2 separate regions of the Homo sapiens genome follow, and region 1 is linked to region 2. Evidence: promoter capture Hi-C in human tissues and cell types (Jung and others, 2019). All regions are on one chromosome and are shown on one strand. The core of a region is centred on a gene start or on the middle of the fragment in contact, and the rest is flanking DNA. Distances in the headings are between cores, read along the strand shown.

Region 1 (5,563 bases), core at 288-2,787, 46 kb after region 2:
AAAATGAAAAACCAGTTGGGTCCTTTTGGACTACCATGGCAGAAGATGAACAAAAATTATTTACTGAAAAGGTAAGCGACACATTTTCTGAATGCCTAAACCTAATTAATGAAGGACGCGCAGAAGAAGAAATACTGGTCACACTGAACGATCTGATTAAAAATATTCCAGATGCCAAAAATCTTGTAAAATATTGAATATGTCTTGCACATACTGAACCAACCCCAAGTCCTATTGAAAGTATTCTCGCAATCTATGAGAAGGCCATTCTGGCAGGGGCTCAACCTATTGAAGAGATGTGACACACAGTTGTAGATATTCTACCAATAAAGAGTTAAGAAAATGTCAGTTTTGGAGAAAATATTGAGGAGGCTTGTGCAACCAAGGAACAAGTCCAAGAAGTCAACACTGAAGATACAACTGTTAATTCAGAGTCAGGAAGACCAGAAATGGGGAATAGACATCATATTTTTTGTATGCTTCCACAGGCACTGAAGAGAACAGACATCATGGAAACGTGCTATTTCAAGATTCTGAAAAATAGCAAGATGACAAAACAAAAGATCCAACCAATGATGTTAAAATCCCCAATACAGAAACTAGGGCAAGTTGCTTAATTAAATATAATGTATTTACTATGACATACTTGCAAAGTGTAAAAAAGAAGGTGCAATTTGATTAAACAAATTATACATTTAAAGAGCTCAAGTTTTAAATACCAGTGAGATGTTCTCAATGTCAGCGTAAAACTTTAAAATTGCCAGGTATGTTAAAAGACCATTATCCCTGCGTGTCTTCATTGGAAGAGTTAACAGAGTTGGGAAGTGACACTGATCCCTTTGTATGCTGTCCTAATGCAGCACTATGCTGAATGTACTCTGAGACTGAAATAACAGATGAAATAGAAAGCTCTGGTAAGGAAAAAAAAAATATCAATGCCACCTCCCTCAAACTGCTATCACCAAATCATGAAGTGCAAGAGAGGGGACATGGGAGATGACGCCGAAGAGTGGGCAGGAGCCAAATCACAGAAGTCCATGCACCATTTTAAAATGCTTGGACTTAAGCTTGTGGGCAATGGGGAGGACCGAAAAGCATTTAAGCAGAGAAGCAACATGATTTAACTGCCAAGGAGATAGGAAGAAATGCTCAAACCTGCCTCTCTGAGCTGGGGGTTGGGTTGGATTTTATAAGCGTAGGGTAATGAGGTGTGATCTGATTGCATTTTGCAATGACATGATGCCAGGAGGCATGATATGACTGGATCCTGCCATGGGGTGATGCCAGAGCTCATCTGATTGGATTCTAGATCCTGCTATGCGGTGTCTGCTTCTCAATTCAGTCCTCCCCACCCTTCTTGGTCTGAGTACTCAGGTTTCCCCTGTGGTAGAACATGTGTTCATCTGGGCATGCTCAGGTTACAGGACTTTCAACCTGGGGTCCATGGCAACCGAGAAATAACTTACAACTTTGCTACATAAAAGTTGAACCAGATTGGCCTGATGTGGTTACAATAATACAACACAGAAAATTCAGAAAAATGGGGTGGGGGGCAAAAGCTAGGGCAGGAATTCAGATTTTGGATGTGCTGTTTGGTTATGGTAGATCTTCGCAGGTCTTTTTAAATACAAAGATCTTGAGAAATTAGACATTAAGTTCTTAAAACCTTTCTTATCATATCCTTCTAAGGCATTGTTTTTCAGAGAAAGAAGTAATTTTGCTTCCCAGGAGACATCTGGCAATGTGTAGAGATATTTTTGGTTGTCACAACTGGAGGGAGGGGTGCTACCGACATCAAGTAGGTAGGGCCCAAGGTTGCTGCTTAGCATTCTACAATGCACCAGTCTTCCATAAAAAAGAATTACCTGGCCCAAATATCAATGGTGCCAAGATGGATACATTCAGTTCTAGGGACTAGAGGAATACCAGCATCTTATTTTACAATTTTGTCCAGGGCGAGACATTGGAGAGTATGGATGGGTCAATTAAAAAACATCATCACGGCTGAAAAGCCAATGTAATCTGAGTGTTGGCAGAGAAATTAAAAGTCATCTAATTCAACCACTCAGCTGATATTTGAATATTTGCTTCAATAACCTGTCATTGCATGAGAAAGCTTATTGCACAAAACAGCTCTAACATATCCACAGGCTGAGAGCCCAACTTGAAAGCATTTCATCTTTTGAAAGGTGTTCAGTTTCTATTTTTCAGTCTAAAATTGGCCTCTCTATAACAAGTAACCACTGGACCCAGTTTCACTTCTTAGTTACGCAAAGAACAATTTCTTTTCATCATAATTATCTTTGAGGCTTATAAAAGCATAAATTCTCTTTCTCCTGTGCTATGACTTTAGCTTTACATAAAGAATAAGAGTGGGCCGGGCGCGGTGGTTCATGCCTATAATTCCAGCACTTTGGGAGGCTTGGTTGGGTGGATTGCTTGAGCTCAGGAGTTGGAGACCAGCCTGGGCAACATGGTGAAACCTCTTCTCTACAAAAAATACAAAAATTAACCAGATGTAGTGGCATACATCTGTAGTCCCAGCTACTTGGGAGGCTGAACTGGGAAGACGGCTTGAGCCCAGGACGCGGAGGTTGTGAGCCAAGGTCGCGCTACTGCACTCCAGCCTGGGGCAACAGAGCCAGACCCTCTCTCCAAAAAGGAATAAGAGCGAGCACATAGCATTTTCTTTATATATAAAGAGAGCATATAACGAGGCAAAGCAAATAAAATTATATTTTAGTAGTTTGGACTTGGGTAAAAACAAGAAAACTTTATGGATGGCAAGGGAAAACTGTCAAGAATCAACAAAGAAAATTCATTAACTCTGGACAGAAATTAGGAAAAGCTTCTGATAAGAAAAATAAACCAAAGATTCAGATGCTAAGTGGAACCAAGAAAAGTAGGCAACACAAAATATAAATGAAATAAGTCAGAAAAAAAAATAGGCAAACAAGGAAAAACATAAAAGAAACAGAAGATGATAGTAAATGGCACCTGAATTTTAAGGAGAAGCCAGCCTAGTAGCAATTTACCTGTAAGTATGGCTGTCTCTGGCCTGAGGCCGTAGGAAATTATATGAGCAGGCCTTTCCTTCTGAATTATTATAATGGGGACATCAGGTTAAAGCAAACACCAAAAGCAGTCTTCTTCTTCTTCCACCTCCTCCTCCTTTCCTTTCTCCTTCCCCTCCTCCTCTCTTCCTCCTCCTTTTTTTTTGAGAAGGCTGGGATTAGGGGTTATGGGAGCTGGGTGGAGTCAGGAGAGGGGGCTAACAACTAGGGGAAAGTTGTATGAATTTGTTAGCAATGGGAAGATTTTAACTATATAGGTATATATATAGTTATATATATATACATATGTGTGTGTGTGTGTGTGTGTGTGTATACACACATGTTATCACAATGAAAAAAATAGCAACTAAAAACATTTTCCTGCCTTCCCTCCTGTGCTCACTGCTTAGTCACCAGCAGCAGCAGCCCAGGTCAGGGCAGTATCTCACATTCCCAGTTCCCTGGAGATGGACCTCTGATCACTGTAGTACATAGATCCTGTCATATTTATAGGAAACACAGTGACTCAGTGAGAACACCACTGCCACTGTCCCGCCAGCCCATTAATCAAATGTCAAATTTGAGGCAGCACTGGCTGGGCCCGCCAGGATGAAGGGTGTGGACGCAGAGCAACACACCCTTCTGTTTTCTTGTCTAGACCCATTTTGTGTGGGCCTAGAATCCAGAAACCTGTTGGGAGACTCTTCATTTCTTACTGAAATTAAGAGCATCCCAGTCCCAGGTGGCAAGGGGCAAGAGACTGCATTCTTCAGGCCAGGCAGGCGCGGTCAGCTTCAATTACCCCTGGGTAGTTGGGTTCACTGAATTTGGTGGCTCCTGGCCAGGACTGCATAACAGACACAGAGGCCCAAGGGTTTGCAGAAGACCAGGAGGGGCCCTCCGCCTCCTGCCTCATTGTGAGGCCCAGGTTTCCAGCCAGGCCGAGTGTGCTGCTGCCCTCAGGGGCCCATTGCAGAGGAGGAACTTGGGGAGCGCCCCACACCATGGAGAGGAGAGTCTTTCCCCAACTAAGCCACTGCCAAATGCCATTACCTTAGGAAAGGCACTTTGTGAGACCTCAACCTGGGCAGCCAAGAGGCCACGAGATGGCAGCAGAGGACACAGCCCTGGACACAAAACCTGAGCCATCTTGCCAAAAGGCAGATTCAGAAACGGAAAAGAGTTCATTTGTGAAATACTGTCAGTTGTCTATGATCACGTATTAAAAGCCAGAATAAATGACAGAATTTCAAAGAAATGAGGGTAAAATGTATTCACATGGAGAATTTCCCGACCACCAATGTGCCACAGCTGCATATGAAGCCACATATCATGAACTGGATTTCTTTAATGTTTAAAAGAATAGATAGGGGTCACGGCCTTTAAAAACTGACGTCAGCAGAAACCTTGTCAGTTTCTTCTTTCAGTGAAGTTCCCATTCAAGTAAAATGAGTGACCTCCACAGAGGCTGCCAAACTGATGAAGAAAGAGGCAGATACAGTGGTTGCTGGGAATCACTGCAGCAAAGCAGAACGCTGTCATGGAGCAGCCCGGGACTGTGGCAATAGGCAGTGTGGAGGGGGAATAATGAGGAACACAGGACAAGTCTCCAATAGTCTTTGCTTGCAGCTGGCAGAGGATAATGCACAGGAAAGCGGCATTAGCAGCACTGGAACTAAATCCCAAATCTGACTTCTCATCTACTGCGCCTTCCATTGTTACATATTCCCTCCTCCCCCACTCCTCAGTTGTGACTAACAAATATGTCTCCAGACCTTGCAAAATATCCTCTGGGGAACGAAATGACCTTTCTCTGAGAACCAATGCCCTAGAGGGATATGATGAAAAAGGTTTTATCAGAAAGGTTTTAAGAATTTAATATTTAATCGAAGACTCTTGGACTTTGCAAGGTCTACATGAACTGTAACATATATCCAAAACCTGAATTCCTACTATGTTTATCTAATGCAGACTGATGATTGAAGAACTATAGCTGAACTGGCTCTTGAGTTTTAAGAAATTATCATTTAAACTACTTCTTACCTCTACAGGCAATTTATTTTTAACCCCTGAAGTGGTTTATAGTTTTAAAGTACTTTTCCTTGTGTGATTTTATTTTAGCCTTGATACTCCAGTAAGGTAGACAGAATAAATATTACCATAACCTCCAAGTGCACAAAATGTAGTTCAGAGAGGTTTGACTTGCCCAAGCAACAAAATTAGAATCTAGGTTTCCTGAGTCCCAGTCCTATTATTTTTTTGAGGAAAAATTTCTAGTAAGAACTTAGGGGTTCATGAAACCAAACCAAAGAAGTAGGTATGGGCATAACTGCTGGAACAGATAAATTTCAACTGCTAAGCTGTTCAAAAATCATCACAAATTATTAATTCCATTTCTTTTTTTCTTTTTGAGACAGAGTCTCGCTTTGTCTCCCAGGCTGGAGTGCAGTGGTGCGATCTTGGCTCACTGCAACCTCTGCCTCCTGGGTTCAAGCAATTCTCCTGCCTCA
Region 2 (5,122 bases), core at 339-2,838:
CACCAATGGCGCCAAAGACATTTGCAACCCAAATCTAGGACTGCCCACATTCTACAATAGTGAGATTTATTATAAAATGACAGCTGTTAGAGTAAGGATAGCTGAATGTTACATCTAAGTGACATGAAATAAGTCACAGAATTGCATTCCATGAGTTCTAAAAGCAGTTGCTAATGTTCTGTGTTCAAATTTGCACTTATATTTTGTGTCTCAATTTTATTAGGGCATGTTACCTCTTTGGGCATTTCTAAAAGCCTTTTTCTTGTCACCAGTCACAGTATTCTATCAACACAAATGGTGCCTCATTCCCTGCCTGACAACTAAATTTAGTTATACATATGTCCAGAATCTTCTCCTGCCCAGGTAGTTTGATGATTCTGGAAATTATGTCATTGGAATTCGTCAGAATGTTTGCTTGCTCAATCCAGCTCTTTCCTCTCCAAATTCTCCCAACACTTTTCACAGGTGTGTTATTCGCTTACTCTCCTCAGGGCAGGATGAGGCAGCTCACTTTTGCCCCTTTTTGTCCTACTCAGCCACATCTGTTAGCTTCAAAGTCTTTGTAACTGAGAGTCTTCACCCAAGAGCACAGGGTGCTTAACTGGCTCAGCACCCAGAGGTAACTTGGGAAGACACGTGGTAGAGGAGCCAATGGAACAGAGGAGAGTGTGGTGTTTAGGTGATGCATTCAAGCTTTGTTCACTCTCTAAATAGAAAAGGCATTTTCACAAAGACTCACTCACTTCGTTCCTTTCCTACTGGCCATAACATCCTCTGAGTCCAGGGTGATTTTGTTCTCTGGAAATGATGGGCAGCTTTATGGATGATGAGGAGACTCTCCCGTTGGTGGAGGCTCCCACATGCAGTCTTACACTACCTCCATCTCTCCACACTCTCAGCCCTTGTTACCTTAAGTATTCACATTATTGCCTGGGTAGTGCTGATTTCACAGGGCCAGTTTTATAGCTGACCCATCAGCCATCTACAGCCTCTCTGAAAGCCTGTTTAGTCACGCTTGCATAGCACGTGTGTCTCTGTCTATACTGTTAGGTGGTAGGTTGCTTGCTAAGCTTTGTTGTGGGTTCATCTCATTTATCATGTTTATTTAGGTTTTGGATCTATCTTCTTAGTGAGCATGCTCATAGCTAACCTTCTTTGAACTTCCTCAACGTGCTGGAATTTGTTCAACTTCTCTGCATGAAATAACTCATTGAATTTTTATAATAATCTTTATAGACAGTTGCTATTATCCCTATTTCACAGATGGAAAAATGGAAACTCAGAAAGGTAAAGTAACATTCCCAAGATTACACAGCTAGTTAATGGCAAAGTCCTAACTTTGAACCTTAGCAGTCTGATACCACAGTATGTGTGGCTTAAACACAAAATATACTGTCTGTAGAATATAAGCTTCCCAAGGTCAGGCACTCTTGAATTCCTGATAGGGAGAACACAGAGCTAAGCAAATGGAAAACTATGAATATATACTTGGTGAGTGACTGTTTCATTACTTAGAATTTTTAAGATCCCCAAGACCAATTGTAGATATTTCTCTTATATTTTCCATTGCTGCTTAAGTAATGCTTACCAACTAACCAACCAACCAAGGAGAAAAGATCCTCTCTATGACAGAGTTTCATCTGCAAAGCCAAATGCCCTCAATAAGACTCATCTTCAGAAGGCTGTCCTTAGGCAGAATTAAACCCAGTCAGAGCCCCAGGTGTTCAACCTCATTTATGGTGGTGCCTTCTTTCTCCATCGCAGAGCACTGGAGAAGGATGAAAGGGGCAAACCTGAGCCAAGGGATGGAGTTTGAGCTCTTGGGCCTCACCACTGACCCCCAGCTCCAGAGGCTGCTCTTCGTGGTGTTCCTGGGCATGTACACAGCCACTCTGCTGGGGAACCTGGTCATGTTCCTCCTGATCCATGTGAGTGCCACCCTGCACACACCCATGTACTCCCTCCTGAAGAGCCTCTCCTTCTTGGATTTCTGCTACTCCTCCACGGTTGTGCCCCAGACCCTGGTGAACTTCTTGGCCAAGAGGAAAGTGATCTCTTATTTTGGCTGCATGACTCAGATGTTCTTCTATGCGGGTTTTGCCACCAGTGAGTGCTATCTCATCGCTGCCATGGCCTATGACCGCTATGCCGCTATTTGTAACCCCCTGCTCTACTCAACCATCATGTCTCCTGAGGTCTGTGCCTCGCTGATTGTGGGCTCCTACAGTGCAGGATTCCTCAATTCTCTTATCCACACTGGCTGTATCTTTAGTCTGAAATTCTGCGGTGCTCATGTCGTCACTCACTTCTTCTGTGATGGGCCACCCATCCTGTCCTTGTCTTGTGTAGACACCTCACTGTGTGAGATCCTGCTCTTCATTTTTGCTGGTTTCAACCTTTTGAGCTGCACCCTCACCATCTTGATCTCCTACTTCTTAATTCTCAACACCATCCTGAAAATGAGCTCGGCCCAGGGCAGGTTTAAGGCATTTTCCACCTGTGCATCCCACCTCACTGCCATCTGCCTCTTCTTTGGCACAACACTTTTTATGTACCTGCGCCCCAGGTCCAGCTACTCCTTGACCCAGGACCGCACAGTTGCTGTCATCTACACAGTGGTGATCCCAGTGCTGAACCCCCTCATGTACTCTTTGAGAAACAAGGATGTGAAGAAAGCTTTAATAAAGGTTTGGGGTAGGAAAACAATGGAATGATTTCTCAATGCATTACCACATATCTTTAGAAAGTCAAGGGAACTTTTACCTTAGGTGGTGTCACCCTGAGCACATTCCCATGCCCACCCCTGTGAATATTGGGCATGCCCTCTGGTCTGCAGGTGCTTCTGCATCTACCTGCCACAGAAGAAATGATGGTGTCCTAGAGACTAAGAAGTGAGAAGGGTGTGTCTGCTTGTTGCATAATTCAACCTGTTGGCAAGATTTAGTAATCCATGTTGAGATGCTTCATTCATTTTTCCCAGTTAGTGTATTTCCTTTCCTTTCCCACCCTCCCTCCCTCCCTCCCCACCTCCCTTTCTTCCTTCCTTCCTTCCTTCTTTCCTTCTTTCCTTTCTCTCTCTCTCTGTCTCTCTCTCTCTCTCCACCCCCGAGGCTGGAGCACAGTGGCATGAACATTGCTCATTGCAGCCTCAACCTCCTGGCCTCAAGCGATCCTCCTGCCTCAGCCTCCTGAGTAGCTGGGACTACAGGTGCATGCCACCACACCTGGCTAAATTCCTGATAGGGAGAACACAGAGCTAAGCAAATGGAAAACTATGAATATATATTTGGTGAGTGACTGTTTCATTACTTAGAATTTTTAAGATCCCCAAGACCAAATTGTGGATATTGCTCTTATATTTTCCATTGCTGCTCAGGTAATGCTTGTCAGCTAACCAACCAGCCAACCAAGGAGAGAAGACCCTCTCTATGACAGAGTTTCATCTACAAAGCCAAATGCCCTAAATAAGACTCATCTTCAGAGGGCTATTTTTAATTTCTGTAGAGATGGGGTCTCCCTATGTTGCCCAGGCTGGTCTTGCACTCTTGAGCTCAAGTGATTCTCCCACCTTGGCCTCCCGAAGTGCTGGGTTTACAGGCATGAGCCACCATGCTGGCCTGTCATTCTTCTTCTTTTTCTTCTTCTTCTTTTTTTTTTTGAGGCAGAGTTTTGCTCTTGTTGCCCAGGTTGGAGTGCAATGGTGTGATCTCGGCTCACCACAACCTCTGCCTCCCAGGTTCAAGCGATTCTCCTGCCTCAGCCTCCCAAGTAGCTGGGACTACAGGTATGAGCCACCATGTCTGGCTAATTTTGTATTTTTAGTAGAGATGGGGTTTCTCCATGTTGGTCAGGCTGGTCTTGAACTCCTGACCTCAGGTGATCTGCCCACTTCGGCCTCCCAAAATGCAGGGATTACAGGCATGAGCCACCGCACTGGCTGTCTTCTTTTTAAATATAGGCATTTAAGACAAATTTTTTCAAATTCTATTTAGCCTGCATCCCATATGTTTTGAAATATGGTGTTTTTAGTATTAAGTTCTGTGTATATTCTAATTTTTATTATCATTTATTCTTTAATCCATGAGTGGATTTTTTTAAAATTTCCTAATATCTGGGCATTTATGAAAAATCTACACCCAACATTATACTTACTAGTGAAATAATGCTTTCCCCTTAAGATTTGAAGCAAGGCAAGTTTTCTGCTATTGCCATCTCTATTTAAAATTGTTCTGAAGATTGTAGCAAGTACATTAAAACAAACAAAGCATCTAGATTGGAAAGGGAGAAGAAAAATTGAGTTTATTTGTAGATAACATGATCCTGAATATAGAAAGTTCCAAGTAATCTATTAAAAAACTCCACTGGAACTAATAACCAAGTTCAGTAAAATTACAGCATATAAAAAATATAGAAAAATTAATTATATTTTTATATATTGGCAAGAAACAATCCAAAAATGAAATTAAGAAAACAATTCTTTCACAAAAATGTTGTCATTTCCATATACTGGAAATCATAAAACGTTCCTGAGAAAAGTTAGAGAAGATCTAAATAAATGGAGAGACCTTCAATATTCATGGATTGGAATAATCAATATCATTAACATGGCAATACTTCCCAAACTGTTCTATAGATTCAATATAATCCTTAGGAAAATCTCAGAGGCTGTATCTTAAAAATTTGACTAGTTGGTCCTAAGATGTATATGCAAATACAAATAAACCAGAATACCTAAACAATTTTAAAAAGAAGGAGAGGTTGGGCTTGGTGGCTCACGCTTGTAATCCCAGAACTTTGGGAGGCCAAGACAGGTGGATTGCTTGAGGCTAGGAACTTGAGACCAGCCTGGGCAAGATGGAAAAAACCCCATCTCTACTGAAAATACAAAAATTAGCCGGTTGTGGTGGTGCACGCCTTTAATCCCAGCTACTCCGGAGGCTGAGGTGGGAGGATCACATGAGCCTGGGAAGTCGAGGCCTCAGTGAGCCGTGATTGTGCCACTGGACTCCAGCCTGGACAACAGGGCAAGATCCTGTCTTAAAAATAAAAATTTAAAAACATTGACTAAGTTGGAAGAATACAGACCCAATTTTAAAACTTTCCATACTGCTATAATTACCAA

Evidence for each region. The method cuts DNA at HindIII sites, captures the fragments that hold promoters and counts their contacts. A contact is called where the count stands out against the background at its distance.
Region 1: a contact is called between a fragment that was not itself captured here and the fragment with the promoter of OR5AU1 in region 2, in 2 of the 25 tissues and cell types used here (mesendoderm cells and thymus).

The regions. Positions count from the first base shown.
Region 1 is chr14:21,105,632-21,111,194 of GRCh38, reverse strand. It overlaps the pseudogene CKAP2P1. Among named protein-coding and RNA genes, the nearest start is that of TMEM253, 7.3 kb to the right of the region's middle. The HindIII fragment of the contact is 5,951 bases long and covers 1-4,512 here.
Region 2 is chr14:21,152,529-21,157,650 of GRCh38, reverse strand. It overlaps OR5AU1 (olfactory receptor family 5 subfamily AU member 1), which reads left to right and starts at 1,588. Exons shown (of 1, transcript NM_001004731.3): 1 at 1,588-2,786. The coding sequence starts at 1,779. The coding sequence ends at 2,714. The HindIII fragment of the contact is 4,022 bases long and covers 1,241-5,122 here.